Linked DNA regions of Homo sapiens: all the other regions are linked to region 1. Evidence: promoter capture Hi-C in 16 types of primary human blood cells and fetal thymus (Javierre and others, 2016). All regions are on one chromosome and are shown on one strand. The core of a region is centred on a gene start or on the middle of the fragment in contact, and the rest is flanking DNA. Distances in the headings are between cores, read along the strand shown. Region 1 holds the start of CCDC174 (coiled-coil domain containing 174). Region 2 overlaps DCP1A (decapping mRNA 1A). Region 3 holds the start of ZDHHC3 (zDHHC palmitoyltransferase 3).

Region 1 (4,958 bases), core at 1,560-4,059:
TGTTTGGAACCAATGGAGATAATTAGATCTTATTTTTTACCTTGTTAGTTGTTTTTGGTTTTCCAAAAACTCCAGAATCTTTTAGAAGTTTTTCTTGTTTGAATTCTTCTTGCTTTCGGAAGAGTTCAGCCTTAAGATCTACCAACTAGAATGAAAGCAGTAAGTAAACAAAAATATTAAATTCCTGCAGGTGACTGGATTGCTAAATTATTATAATTTCCAAAGGAATATTTCAAGTTCCGCTAAATGGACAAATATGGCTAAAAAACTAAATGTTTAAGTAACTAAATGTTTAAATGTAGAATCCAGTACACAAATTAAGCTAAGTCATGTTTCATTCTACCTCTGCTGCAAATGCATTTTTACTCTGACTTTCAACACTCGAGGCTTTCCTTAGGCAAGGAGAAAGTGATAAAGCAAAATAAATTAATAAAGTCTGCATCTTTTAGTTTCAGATTAAACTTGCATTATTAAGCACCTTCTCTCTGACTAGCACTGCACTCATTTCATCATCACAACTTATTTCTACAGTGAAATGCTGTAGAAATAACGCTGAAGAGCAGAACATAAACATGAATTAGACATACTCTCTGCCTCAAAGAGCCTACAATGTAACAAGGAAAGTAATTTATACTACCAACAAAATAAAACAAATGACTCTAGAGTGGAAGAAAGTAGCACATAAGTTCAGATAACAGAGCATTTCCTTCTGAGCAGAGTGATCAGAGAAAGCTTAGAGCAGAGCCTTTAAAGACACATTATTTCAACAGCTAGAAATAAAATAGACTGGGTGAATTATAACAGCTCCACGTTTGACTTAATCCATTTCAAAAACCGTAAGCTTGGCTGAATCACACGGTTCAAGAACAGGAAAGAAGGCCAAGGCATAGGGAGTGGGGCAGTTGGGTGAATATTAGTACCTTTCCCTCAGCTACATTAATTACCCCTGCCTACTCTGCAAAAAAGGATATAACAACAGTTTCCTTTTTAATGGTCCAGGTACAGCTGCTTATATGGATGGGCATTTGTAAATCAGATACTTCATCACTGTCTTAATCATCAGATACTTAAAAAAATCACTTTATTTGTTAAGGAAGATAAAAATGGCTGGGTTCAATTTCCGTTTTGGAAGAAATCGATTTAAAAGGTAACCATTTAATAATGCAAAGGGCAGTTTCACTGCAGACCCTAATACTGGAAATTTTTAAAAACAAATGAAAAACTTCTACTTTTTCTTCTAAGCTTACTTAACCACACCAAATTTTCCAGCCACATATCTTCCTAGTCTACAACTGCCTTTAACTTTAAGAGATGCTCAAAAAAATGTAAATTCTCAAATAGCATTCTTATTACAATTACTGCTAACCTGTCAGTATAGGTTGGCTTTAATATTTATAGCTTTCTGGTTCCTGATCTTCAAACAAAATAATAACTGGTACCAATTTTAACCAATAATAGTTACCAATAATAACTAGTACTCAAATATTGGGACACCTATATGTTTTCCTTCCTACTCACTTTGTGTCCTAATACTCTGAAGTAAATTCAAGATTAAATCAAAGGTTGGGCAATTTGCTCTGATGATGAAAAGGCAGCAGCTTTGGAGTCAAGTAGAGTGAGTGAGAAAGGGTCTATCACTAAGATTTCTTCCCCCCGCCCCCCGCCCCTTAGACGGAGTTTCGCTCTTGTTGCCCAGGTTGGAGTGCAATTGCGCGATCTCGGCTCACCGCAACCTCCGCCTCCCCGGTTCAAGCGATTCTCCTGCCTCAGCTTCCCGAGTAGCTGGGATTACAGGCGTGCACCACCACGCCCGGCTAATTTTTTTATTTTTAGTAGAGACGGGGTTTCTCCATGTTGGTCAGACTGGTCTCAAACTCCCGACCTCAGGTGATCTGCCCGCCTCAGCCTCCCAAAGTGTTGGGATTACAGGCGTGAGTCACCGCGCCCGGCTATCACTAAGATTTCTGTCTGTAAGCTGGGGAAAGCTACTTCATCTTTCCAGGCCTCAATTTCATCATCCATAAAACGGAGATATTAATAGCACCTACCTCCTAAAGCCATTGGGAGGATTCAATGAGATAGTGCATATAAAGTGCTGGCACAAAATGTGTACTTAGAACAAGTTTTCTTTCTAGAGTAGCTGATGTAATAAATCTGCTTACATCCTTTCAGACCTCACAACTCCCTATGCCTGCATTAACAACTGTTTAGTTCCAGGGAGGGCACGCTGGACACTTTCGGGTCCTGCGAAATATGTCACACTCTAAAGTTCTGGGAGGACTTTGTGGGTCCCTGGATGGAGGAGAAACCAGGAAGAGGATATGTCTGCATAGCAAAAAGAAGCTAGGGTTCCTCCTGACTGTAAGGGAGAAGGCTGACGAGGTGCAGGTCCTTGTGGGCAGGGCAGAGGTGAGGCACGGAGTTTCCTAACCCACGGGACACCAGGTTCAGATCCGTGTCCGAGGGTTCTGGCCCGGGCGCATGTCAGAGGAGAGTAGCCCAATTCAGGGTCCTGTAAGAAAACTGAACCGGATCCCCGCCGGAGAAGAAAATCCAGTTCGGGGGTTCCTGTTTGAGGGGAGAGGTCAGGTCTCTGGGTCCCCGAGTGAAGAAACAAGCTAGGTCGACATTCTTGTCTGATGGAGACACGGTGAACCCGGAGCCCGTGGAGTTACCTCATACCCTCACTCACCGAGGAGGCCGTGACGTCCAAAGGCTTTTTCCTACGGTCCATGGTCGTGGCAGAGGGTCCCGGTCCAGGAAGGACCCTTTCTACCCGACACAGGCCTCGTAAGCCTACCTCCGTCGCAACCGGAAGTGTCTTCGACAGCGACACTGAGTTTGCGTGAGTTTGCGACGCGAGTTTGTCAGCTCAGCGCCATCTTGAGAAGGTCAGAGTGTGGTGCGTATTACGTTCACCATCATTTTGGAAAGGTCATAGAGTGCGGAGGTTGACGCTAACTGCTAAGGTCATCTTGAGGGCGGAAGGTAACAAGGATTGGTGTGGGCGCCATCTTGAGAAGGGCGGAATAAAGCTTTTGATTGCGATGGACGCCATATTGGGTGGGGCGGATGTGGGGTTGGCGACAAAGATAACGCCATCTTGGGGAAGGCTGACGCTTAAGTAAGTGAACTCGAGCGTCTCGGGAAAGGTGGATTGGGAGGACCGGAAGAATCTTAACTGCAATTCCAGGACCTGCTGCCTGGCACTTTTCACACGTTAAATAGTTGGTTCTTAAAAGAGCGTACGAGATAAGGATTATTATATTAATCTTAGTAGAAATAACAAGAATAATAGCTAACATTAATGTAGTGCTTATTATGGGCCACTTTACATATTTCAGCTCTTAAGAACGTGAACTCCTGGGCCGGGCGCGGTGGCTCACGCCTGTAATCCCAGCACTTTGGGAGGCTGAGGCGGGTGGATCAGGAGGTCAGGAGTTTGAGACCAGCCTGACCAACATGGTGAAACCCCGTCTCTGCTGAAAATACAAGAAAAAAAAAAAATTAGCCGAGCGTGGTGGTGCGCGCCTGTATTCCCAGCTACTCAGGAGGCTGAGGCAGAAGAATCGCTTGAACCTGGGAGGTGGAGGTTGCAGTGAGTCGAGATCAAAAAAAAAAAAAACAAAGAACACGTGAACTCGAAAGCTGACTTTCTGGGTTGGAATCGCTCTTCACGGCTTACTGCTTGTGTGACCTTGGGCAAGTTACTTAACTTCCGTGTGCCTCAGTTTCCAAAGGGGGATATAATTTTATTTACCTAATGGGTCTTAGTGAGGATTAGATGAGTTAAATGAGCTAGTCTTGATAAAAATGTTAATGATTATGGTAGACAGACCAATCACCCTCACCCCGACTCCCAGATGTCTACCTTCTAATCCCCAGAATCTGGGTATATGGTGACCTTTATATAGCAAAAGAGAATTGGCAGAGATGATGAAATTAAAGCGATTGAGATGGGGAGCTAGCCTGGATTGTGCAGGTGGGTCCCCTATCATCAAAACCATCCTTATAAGGGGTAGACAGGATGGCCAGAGTCAGACAGAGATCAGAGATGCTTTGAAGAGGGAGAGTGGGACCACATGCCTAGGTATGCAGGAGGCCGCTAGAAAAAGCAAAGAAATGAGCCCTCCTCCAGAGTCTCCAGAAGGAATGCAGCATTGCTGACACGGTGATTTTAGTCTTGTAACACTCATCTCAAACTTCTGACTTCCAGAACTCTACCAGAATACGTTTGTGTTGTTTTAAGCCACCAAACTTGTGGCAATTTGTTACAGCAGCAAGACGAAAGTGATCATAATGATTGTAACAGTGGCATTTAGTATATGTGGGGCATGTGTATGACTCTTTGCATAGATTATATTATATAATCCTTGCAAGAATCCTAGAAGCGGACCTATTATCCACCATATTAGAGAGAAGAAAAATGAGACTCATCACATCCTCATCTCATCTGTCTTTATGGAGAAAATGGGAAAAGGGAAAAGGAGAGGGGAATTGAGGCAGTTGACTGTGTTCAGTCTTATTTATTTATTTTCATTTGTTTATTTCTCCAAGTCCGCCAGTCTCTGAAATTAGAACAGTAAGCAATATGAGATAATCGGGCCTAATAATGTTGTGATTCTCTTTTCTTAATGGAGTGGAATGTTCTGTCCCCACAAGAAGGATTATACCTTATAGACTTGTCTTGTTCAGATTCTGTATTTACCCATTTTACTGAAACACATACTAAATTCCATGTGTTTTTGTTACAAATCTTCTGAAAGAAAATGTGAAACATTAAAAGGTATTAATAATAATTTTTTTTAAAAGGAAAAAAAATGAGGCTCAGTTGCTTAAATGGCATGCCAGGGGTCATTTCCCAGCTAGCAAGTGAAGGAGCCTTCAGTTAAAAAATAACTCAAAGACATTGAGTTAATTATTGGCGTGTTATTTACTTGTAACTAGTGGAACCAGTA
Region 2 (4,958 bases), core at 1,162-3,661, about 39 Mb before region 1:
TTCAATATTTTAAAATTTTACATTGTGGAGTTCTGTTTTAAATATGAAATACAAGCTATAATAACCTGAATTGAAAAATAAGCTGCTACTGTTTATTTGGATCCTGGCACATAGAGCATGACAAAAATCTTTTCCCTCTTTATTATTTTACAGTGAGTTGTAACTTTGCATGATGTTTTTTGGTGGGCAAATTTTCTTTTACTGTAAGACAGTTGATTACCAGTTTCTTATAGTAATAACCTAACATTTTAAAGGTAAGAAAAAGCCTCTGAATCCTTAGGAAGGAAAATAATGATATTTAAGCTAGGGTAGTACTTCTGGAAGAAATCGAGATGATCAATTTTCTAAATTTTTTAATCCCAACACATTCAATATATGACTAACATTTAAAATGTTAATAATGCGTTGATTACAGTAAAATATTTAGGTCCATTGTAGGCTGTAAATTGCAGACTAATAAGCTTATTTATTTTTTAAAAAACACTGAACTGTGTTTAAAACCTAAATACACTCTTGTCACAGAAAATGAACTATGGTAAAGGCCTCCAATAATTACACTGAGGCAGGGTATACTTTCAGTATTCAAGATTCTTCAAGTTCTAAAAATAACAAGCTGATTTTGTTTGGTAGTAATTCTTAACCACAAAATTTGCTAGTTGTCAAAATGTACGAAAACTCCCTAGTGATGAAACAAAGTATCCTATAAGAAAGTTTCATTCCTTTCCTTTTTTAAAATTAACTTGGATAAACTTAAAAGAGAAGAAATTGCAGTATACAGGACCTTAGCTTTAAAGTTAAGAAATCTGGCTAAAATATTTTAGCTATAAAAAGTGAAGGTTTATTCTATGATTTTCTCCTTTACTAATTAAAAAAGAAAAATACTGCAGATACAGATATGTTGCTGGATTAAATATTGCATATGCTTATGCACTGAAAGGATACATTAGAAATGGTAACCACAATTTGTGGAATGAGAGGGAGACTTTACCTGTTCAAAAGTGGTTAATTTTATAATAGATGAAATGAAACAAGTTGATCTTAAACGTGAAGCATTACTTCTCCATGGGGACTATTTGGGGTCTGATTATGGGGAAAAAAAACTAATTGAGTCATTGTCTTTCATAGGAGAAGACTGATATAGAAGGGACCTTATTCGTATATCGAAGGTAAGTTTTTAAAATATGTATATTTGTTTTTAACAGTCTAGTGGTGAACAATGTGAAACGGTTCAATTCTCTTGTACATTTGTCTTTGGAACCGTCCTGCTAGTACCCTTCAAGTTTTCATCTTTCCCTAGCTGTGAAATCTTAACCAGGTTCTTTCTTTTCTCTGAGCCTTTCTGTGATTCAGAATAAACTGAACTAGAATTTATATTACCAGCCTAGCAAAGCAATTTCAAAATAATAATGATTGAGTCTAAAATGGATGCCTGCGTCTCTCTTCCTACCCCCATATTAGAAAGAAAAAGAAAGATATATATTTGGGGAAAAGACAATACATAGACTGGCTCTGTAAAATAATGTTATTGAGAGGTCGATCCCTCTGTTCTTTCATTACTACATGAGTGGTTGTCTTTTATGACTGGTTCTGTCCTCTTTCCCAACCCACAGAAGTTCTGGATTATGTACAGTGTCTTATTTGAGAGTTCTTTAGAAAGCTTGGATTATTCATGATGGCGTATTTTTTATTTTTGACTTATTCAAAAATTCATTATCTTTAAGATTGGTTTGCAAATTGCAACTTTTTTGTTAGGCAGCTTTTGGGGCCTAAAGACAACTGACAGTATATGATAGTCATGGGGTACTTGTTTTCCTGGATTCCTCTAAGGTCTTAACTCTTACAAGGGCAGGTTCCTTCCCTTGTTTTCTAAAGCTTAGGGAGTCAGCAGGAGTTATTACTGATATCTGGTCTTTTCCCTTTTTTTTTTGTATTGAGTTGCTTCATAAGGATTGCCTTTCTCCATTGATGCCAATTTAAAAGAATTTGTCAAATACTCTTCTAAATTTTGATACAAAGCTTTGAGATCTCGTCTAAATGCACTCATTTTTTTCTTCTTTTAAGTGTAATTCTTTGATATTTGTACACCAAGCTCTTTTTTCTTAGACACTTTCTTTGTTCCCTGCTATTCATCTTTCTGCTTTTAAAAAGGAAGGGATCGGCCGGGTGCAGTGGCTCACGCCTGTAATCCCAGCACTTTGGGAGGCCGAGGTGGGCGGATCACGAGGTCAGGAGATCAAGACCATCCTGGCTAACACGGTGAAACCCTGTCTCTACTAAAAATACAAAAAATTAGCTGGGCATGGTGGCAGGCACCTGTAGTCCCAGCTACTTGAGAGGCTGAGGCAGGAGAATATCGTGAACCCAGGAGGCGGAGCTTGCAGTGAGCCGAGGTCGTGCCACTGCACTCCAGCCTGGGTGACAGAGCGAGACTCCCTCTCATAAAAAATAAATAAATTAATAGGAAAGGATCTTTACCCTCACTCCCTTCATTACTCTTCATTAGCAATATAAATCTCTAGAAACTCTGTTATTAGAACCTTAGTTTCTATGATATTTGGTAAAAGTACTTTACTGGCTTTATTGTTATCATACAGAGGCACTGATTGTAGAAAGTAGGAGATTTAGTGTAGTGGGTGGCTGGATTTAATACAATTCACGGAGGCTTATATGGTACTGATTCTAATTAAAGGAGACGCAAGAAACTGTGTTTGGAAAATGTGAGACTATTTTGCGTACCTTGGATAAAGGTATACCAGGATGTCAGACTGTCACTTTGCAGCTATTACTTCATATAGTAGAAGCTTGGATTTGGAGTCAAAAAACCTGAAACTGAATCCTAGTTATATTATTTGTAACTCATTATTTGTGTGACCTCAGGCACAGGCCTTATCATTCAAAGCTTGTCTCCTAATCTATAGAATAGTGTTCTGTTAACACCCCGGGTATATCGTAGAGAAACAAATGAAAAACGGTGAAGTGTTAGGTACATGTGAAGAGTAAAGGATCATGTACCGAATCCCTCTGATATGGGAACCAAGGATGTTTCCTATTGTAGGATTCAAGGCATTTTCCGTCTAACTCAGGAGCGCTATGTAAATATCTATTTGTTGCAAGAAAAACATTATTGTAATGATGGGCAGCCATTATAGCCAATCCAATTGAATGATATTTCATTCAGCAACTGTGTGTCTATCTTGGGATATATGTATGAAAAAAGTAAGACAAAAGCTCCATTTGCATGGGGCTTACATCCTAGTGGGGGGAGGACAATAAATACTAAAAATAAGTGGTATGGATAAAAGAGGAAGGTTAGAGATATTGAGCTTGGGAGCATTAAAAAGGATAGTTCAAGTAGGCCTCATGAAAAAGGTGACATCTGAACAAAGGCTTGGAGGAGATGAGATAGCTGTGCAGCTTCTGGGGCAGTAATCCAGGAAGAGGTTTTTAGGTAGAAGCACACACGCAGAGAGAGTGGCAAGGAGCCCGGTGTGGCTGGAGAGTAGGAGCTGGAGAAGAGCCATAGGAAATGAAGTCAGAGTGGGGAGTATATCAGGTGGGGCCTTGGTGGCCTCAGTAAGGACTTTGGCCTTTACTCTGAGAGACTGTCTTTGGAGACTTCTCGTCAGAGGAGGAGTATGATCTGACTTAAATTTTTTGTTTACAGATGTAAGTGCTGATAATATTGTATAATGTTCTAATGCATTCTTTTTTGAAATGAAAATAAAGTACATAGTAGATAACATTTCTACAGATTAAATGGTAACTACATATTTTTTTTTCTTCTATTAAATCTAAGGTCAGCTTCCCCTTACCATGGTTTTACCATTGTGAATCGACTAAATATGCACAATCTAGTTGAACCAGTGAATAAAGATTTGGAATTTCAGCTCCATGAACCATTTCTTCTGTATAGAAATGCAAGCTGTGAGTATATCTGTTTTATTATAGTTATTACATTTAAAATTGAGTGACTTTAGTTTCTATCAATCCATTATTTAGGAAGTTTCAAATTACAAAACAAAATATGGTCTCTACTTAATGATTATAAATGAGTCTGTTGGAAAGATCAAACCTTTTAAACTGGGCTCTGAGGCCAGAGGTGGTGGCTCATGCCTGTAATCCCAGCACTTTGGGAGGCCGAGGAGGGCAGATCACTTGAGGTCAGGAGTTCGAGACCAGCCAGGCCAACATGGTGAAACCCCGTATCTACTAAAAATACAGAAAAAAATTAGCCGGGCTTGGTGGCAGGCGCCTGTAATCACTTGAACCTGGGAGGTGGAGGTTGCAGTGAGCTGAGATCGCGCCACTGTACTCCAGCCTGGGCAACAGAATGAGACTGTGTCTCAAAAAAATAAATAAATAAACTGGGCTCTGAAACTGGAAACATTCTTTTGTATATAATTTAGTTTACTATTTCATTTAATAGCACTACATTTCTGTTGTCGGTTTATTAAAATAAGGTTTATGCCTTTGTTTTTTTGCAGCTGTGGACTATCAGCTGCCCATGTCCCTAAGCAACAGAACTTAGTTTGGGACACACAGGATGGGAACAGATACAGATAATTCTTTCCACAAAGAAAGTATTATTATTACTATTATTATTTTCTTTTTTTTGAGACGGAGTCTTGCTCTGTTGCCCAGGCTGGAGTGCAGTGGTGTGATCTAGGCTCATGCAAGCTCTGCCTCCCGGATTCATGCCCTTCTCCTGGCTCGGCCTCCCAAGTAGCTGGGACTACAGGCACCCGCCACCACGCCTGGCTAATTTTTTTGTATTTTTGGTAGAGAAGGGGTTTCACCGTGTTAGCCAGGATGGTCTTGATCTCCTGACCTTGTGATCTGCCTGCCTCGGCCTCCCAAAATGCTGGGATTATAGGCATGAGCCACCACGCCCGGCCAGAAAATATTATTTTTGCCCAGAATAGTGGTGATGGGTTTTTTTTTTTAAGATATTTATTACT
Region 3 (4,958 bases), core at 763-3,262, about 30 Mb before region 1:
TGCCCGGCCCCTGGTATACTTTAACTTCAACCTCCACTAACTATACCACTTCCTTGGCATAGATCTTACATTACCTTTGTTTTTATTTTATTCACTTTTACTCTCTGTTTGTCTCCCTCCTATCTTTCATTTATTTCACAACCATGTTTTGGCATCCCTGCTGTTTCCCACATAACATGCCAGGAGCTAGATATATGTTGGTAAATAAAATTAACTAATGACCATGGTGGGACTCTGCTGCTGGATAGCTAATGAACTGCCGTGGGAATTAAGGGTGCTGGGGAGAAAGCTCTAACCTTGAGGTTACAGATATATCCATGCCTCAGTGCCACTTTCAGGGATGAAATGTTGAGAGAAAATAGGACACATGACAGAGTCACTACATCATGGTAAGCTCCGGTAACAAAGAAGACCAAAGGTTTTTAAATTTAGAGGAAAACGGTTATCCGTAATGTGTCCCTAAAAAAATACTTTGAGGATAAAAATCACCTGAACAAAGTGTATACAAAAATATAGCAGGGAAAGACATATCTAACTGCTTTTGGGCATTTTTATGCCCCCTCACACACAAATAACATACATGTTACCCTGTAATACACACATATGTCCCACTGTTGTTAATCCTGAATTATAACTAAAATATGCAACTGTGAGTTCTGACTTTATTATCCAGGCATAATATGCTAAATATTGGCATTTCTTCATATATAAAGGGCCCAGAAGATAACGGCAGGTCACGATTTTTAAATGGACATGTCCTTAACTCACGTTGTGGGACTTCAATGATAGCTGGCCGCTTCAATCCGATGGCTACATCACGGGACCACTGACTTTGCAGTTGGTACTGACAGAGGAAAGGCATGAGGAAAAGAGGTAGGAGCTGTCGCCAGAACTCTGCCAAGGATGGGATGAAGAACTCTGATAGGAGGACCACACCGTAGGTTAACAAGTGGAGACACAGCCGGAGGAGGATACAGGGTAGCTCGTTACCAGGTCCAACATTTTTCAACCCTCGTTCTGGAGTGGTCATAACCAGGGATTTAATATAGAACACAGAGGACATTAGGTTATAGCTGCCTAGGGATCTTAGTTCTTCATTGGCAAAATGGAAACAGCACTTAGGCTATCGGCTGCCTAGCCGCTTTTTTTTTGAGACTCGGCTCACTGCAACCTCCGCCTCCCGGGTTCAAGCGATTCTCCTGCCTCAGTCTCCCGAGTAGCTGGGACTACAGGCGTGCGCCACCACGCCCAGCTAAATTTTTTTGTATTTTTAGCAGAGACGGGGTTTCACCATGTTGGTCAGGACGGTCTCTTGACCTCGTGATCCGCCCGCCTCGGCCTCCCAAAGTGCTGGGATTACAGGCGTCCTAGCCGCTTTTTAAAAACCCTTCCCCCTTTATTTGTACGGCAATTTGTATTTTCAAAGTGCGTTCACCTCGCATGCGCCCTCCTAACCACGAGGTGAGGAAAAGCAGGCCAGAAGCCCACCTCCAAACTCCCATTTCCTCGAAGAGAAAACTGAGGCTCGGACAAGATCTGTGCGCGAACGCCGAATGGATGGCCCTGGGGCCGATGCTCTCTCACTAAGAAAAGGCCTCCGAGACTGCCCAAGCTTCCTGCCCGGGTTCGGAATCTTATAGACCCGCAAAACTGCAAATGCGCTAACAGTCCTAAAAACGTCCACGTTGCCAGCTCTGAATTGCAAACGCCGGCAGCAGAACCGTTTAATCACAAGGTAAACGGAGAGTCGCCGCAGCTCGGCTGCCTCCTCACTGGCAAACCCAGGGCAGGCCGCGACCCGCAGGGCCAGGCTGAACCCGGCGGCCGACCCAACGCCGCTGCTGTAGCTACCTGGACGCCATGCACGATGTACACCTTCTCCGCCTCGCTCAGCGTCACGGACGCCATGCTGCCGAGCTGCCCCACGAGCCGCACGTCATCTGCGCGCGTCCCCTCCTCTGGACCGCGCCCCCACGTCCCACCCCCCCCCGCCCCGCGTCAGCGCGTCATCAACCTGCGCGGCGGCCGCTCCTGCAGCCGCGGCCGCCGCCACTGCCGGGAGAGCTCGATGGGCTTCTCCTGCGCGCCGCCCGGTGTCTGGCCGAGTCCAGAGAGCCGCGGCGCCTCGTTCCGAGGAGCCATCGCCGAAGCCCGAGGCCGGGTCCCGGGTTGGGGACTGCAGGGGAAGGCAGCGGCGGCGGCGGCGGGAGCCCCACCGGGGTCTGGGACTGGGGAACTGCCTCCGGCTTCACGGTCAGTTGGGAAGGGAAACTGGGGTAGGGGTGAAGAAGCTGGGGTGAGGCGAGCCTCACGGGCCGGGGGACTCCCAGTGGGAGAGGCGTGCGGCGTAGTTGCTCAGAGCTGGAGTTGACTTAGGAGCGTGTGTGTGTGTGTGTGTGTGTGTGTGTGTGTGAGAGAGAGAGAGAGAGAGAGAGAGACCCCGACTAAGGAGGGGCGGACGTCGTGATTGGCCCGGGGGTGCTGTTTCCCTGCTCTTCTCCCCTCCATTTCTCTAGTCCCTAGGATGGCTGGAGAGGCGATGCAGCCCTCCCTAGGTAGTTCTTGGTGGGAAGGGTCCGGGAATGGGGGACACTAGTCCTAAGGCGTCCCCACCCCTCCACCCAGGAATATCTCTCGCTGGCTCGCTCACTCTCTGTGACCGAACGCTGTCCCATTACCTTGCTGGGACCTCTTGCCTCGGGTGCTTACCAGAGCGTTGTCCCACAGACGGGGGAGGAGGCGCTTGGTAACCGGCACTGGCGAGGTGCGCAGTGCCCGGACGTCCCCAACGCTTCCTAGCGGGAACTGGAAACCCCGGCTTGATGGAAGTGATTACTGGGAGCTGTGAGCAGTTGCCCGAAAAAAAGCCAACCCCAACCCCTTGCGATGGCCGAGTGGGAGTATGGGCATTGGATACCCGGAGAGGATATCTGCAAGGTGAAGCTGGGGTCACCAAAGGAACTCATTAAGGCGGGGCTGACAAAGTATGGTGCAAGTTTTAAAGGAGCCGTGTGGATAAATGGGAGAAAGTTAACCCAAATTAGTTGAAGCAAGGAGGGCAGGTTAAAGCAATTCTGATGACTTTCCTGATGTTCCATTTTTGAGGACCCTCAGCCAAAAAAAAAAAAAAATGGTATTTATCAGATAGTGGGTTCAAATACAGTTTCAGATAACTATTGGGAGCCTACTATAGATAGGCTTTGTGCTACCTTTAGAACACAAGACAAGTAAAACATACTATGCCCAGAGAAGTTCCCTGGGCAGATGAAGGCTCCAGGGCCAACATAACCACAGATCATGGTGGTTAGAGCTATGATGGTCGCATCAGTGGGCACAGTGGGATTGGGAGGTCGTCTGATAAGGTTATAGAGAGGAAGTGCTTGCTCACATTCTTAAGCATTAAACTGCTGAGCTCCAAAATTGATGATCAGTTCTTCGTAGACTGGACATTAGATGTTTCTTATGTCTCTACGTAATTCTCCACAGGGGCACCTAAAAGGAAGACAGCTTGCAGGGTTGGACTTTGCCTTCCAGGGAAACTGAAAGAGGTGAAGCCGGAAGGATTTCCTCCCTAATGAAGGCACAGGTGCCCCACCTGTTGTGGCACTTAGATGTGTTTGTGTGTGGTTGGACGGCTGGGTTTTATGTGAGGAGCTCTGTTGTGATAAGATAACATGAGATTGCTGATGTTATAAATGATATTTTCTAGATGTGCTAGAGATTGCTCAGAAAGGAGAGACCCTGGAAGTGGGATTTTAGAAGCTAGGATATCTGAGGAGACTGAGGATTTAAGAGGTGACAGCAAATGGACAGATCAGAAAGACACAGGAAGAAAAGCCTGAGTTCAGATACCATGGAGTTATCTTTATATAAAGATTTTCCAATGTCTTAAAATATAGAACATGTATTTGAACTGTCCCCCCCTCACAATTGACGGGAATTCCATACTGGACAAGGGTCTGCAGTATTTGCTAAATAATGTTATGAACGATGTCTTATATATTAGGCTAAGTAGGTAAGAGAGATGTAAACAGTAGAATGTTCCTTTTTAAATTGTCTACTAAAACAATGACAGTCTTCACTAATCATTCGGCTTAAATGCTGCCAGAACATTTTTATCACCTTTGCTGTAATAGTGCATTGGACGTCTTTAAAATCCATAAATTCTGAGTTCTTTTTTAGTGTATTGAAGTAATTCAAAGAACATATGATAACCAAAAAAATCAAGAAGTCAAGGATGGCACAGTATTAAACCGTCTTGTTTTTCCATCACTATTAGATTCATTTATTGAATGAATAAATGAATTGGGGCATACTATTCTGTAGGTTTGTGTATTCTAAAACCTTATACTCTAATTTTCAACACTAATTTACATAGTGCTTATTGTATGCCAAGCATTGTTCTAAGCACTTTATAAAGATTAACCAGGCTAGGTGCGGTGGCTGACATCTGTAATCCCAGCACTTTGGGAGGCCGAGGCCGGTGGATCACCTGAGGTTGGGAGTTTGAGACCAGCCTGACCAACATGGAGAAACCCCATCTTTACTAAAAATACAAAATCAGCCGGGCATGGTGGCGCATGCCTGCAATCCCAGCTACTCGGGAGGCTGAGGCAGGAGAATCGCTTGAACCCAGGAGGCGGAGGTTTTAGTGAGCTGAGATCACGCCATTGCACTCCAGCCTGGGCAACAAGAGCGAAACTCCATCTCAAAAAAAAATAAAAATAAAAAATAACTGATTCAATCCTTGCAACAGCCCTGTGATGCAAGTATTCTTATCCCTATTTTACAGATTGGGAAATGAGGCACAGAGAGGTTAAATGCCTTAACCAGGGTCACAGGTTACATCATTGGTAAATGGCAGAACCAGGACTTGAGACCAGGCAGTCTAGCTCTCCTGCCCATACTCCTAACCATCACCTTACACAGCCTCCCCCCAGGTTTTATTACATTCACCA

Evidence for each region. The method cuts DNA at HindIII sites, captures the fragments that hold promoters and counts their contacts. A CHiCAGO score of 5 or more calls a contact.
Region 2: a fragment that was not itself captured here is called in contact with the fragment with the promoter of CCDC174 in region 1 in 1 of 17 cell types (total B cells); the score reaches 7.0 in total B cells.
Region 3: the fragment with the promoter of ZDHHC3 here is called in contact with the fragment with the promoter of CCDC174 in region 1 in 1 of 17 cell types (total B cells); the score reaches 6.7 in total B cells.

Annotation. Positions count from the first base shown.
Region 1 is chr3:14,649,613-14,654,570 of GRCh38, reverse strand. It overlaps CCDC174 (coiled-coil domain containing 174), which reads right to left and starts at 2,809. Exons shown (of 11, transcript NM_016474.5): 1 at 2,693-2,809; 2 at 41-145. The coding sequence starts at 2,734. LOC124909347 (a long non-coding RNA gene) reads left to right here and starts at 2,450. Exons shown (of 2, transcript XR_007095826.1): 1 at 2,450-2,902; 2 at 3,345-4,958. RefSeq lists enhancers at 2,497-2,566, 2,707-3,106, 2,610-3,268. The HindIII fragment of the contact is 1,793 bases long and covers 1,245-3,037 here.
Region 2 is chr3:53,341,110-53,346,067 of GRCh38, reverse strand. It overlaps DCP1A (decapping mRNA 1A), which reads left to right. Exons shown (of 10, transcript NM_018403.7): 2 at 1,126-1,166; 3 at 3,797-3,924. Among named protein-coding and RNA genes, the nearest start is that of DCP1A, 4.0 kb to the left of the region's middle. The HindIII fragment of the contact is 785 bases long and covers 2,019-2,803 here.
Region 3 is chr3:44,973,228-44,978,185 of GRCh38, reverse strand. It overlaps ZDHHC3 (zDHHC palmitoyltransferase 3), which reads left to right and starts at 2,012. Exons shown (of 7, transcript NM_001135179.2): 1 at 2,012-2,253. It overlaps EXOSC7 (exosome component 7), which reads right to left and starts at 1,942. Exons shown (of 8, transcript NM_015004.4): 1 at 1,852-1,942. The coding sequence starts at 1,908. RefSeq lists silencers at 1,976-2,045, 2,166-2,265 and an enhancer at 2,488-3,032. The HindIII fragment of the contact is 4,817 bases long and covers 1,615-4,958 here.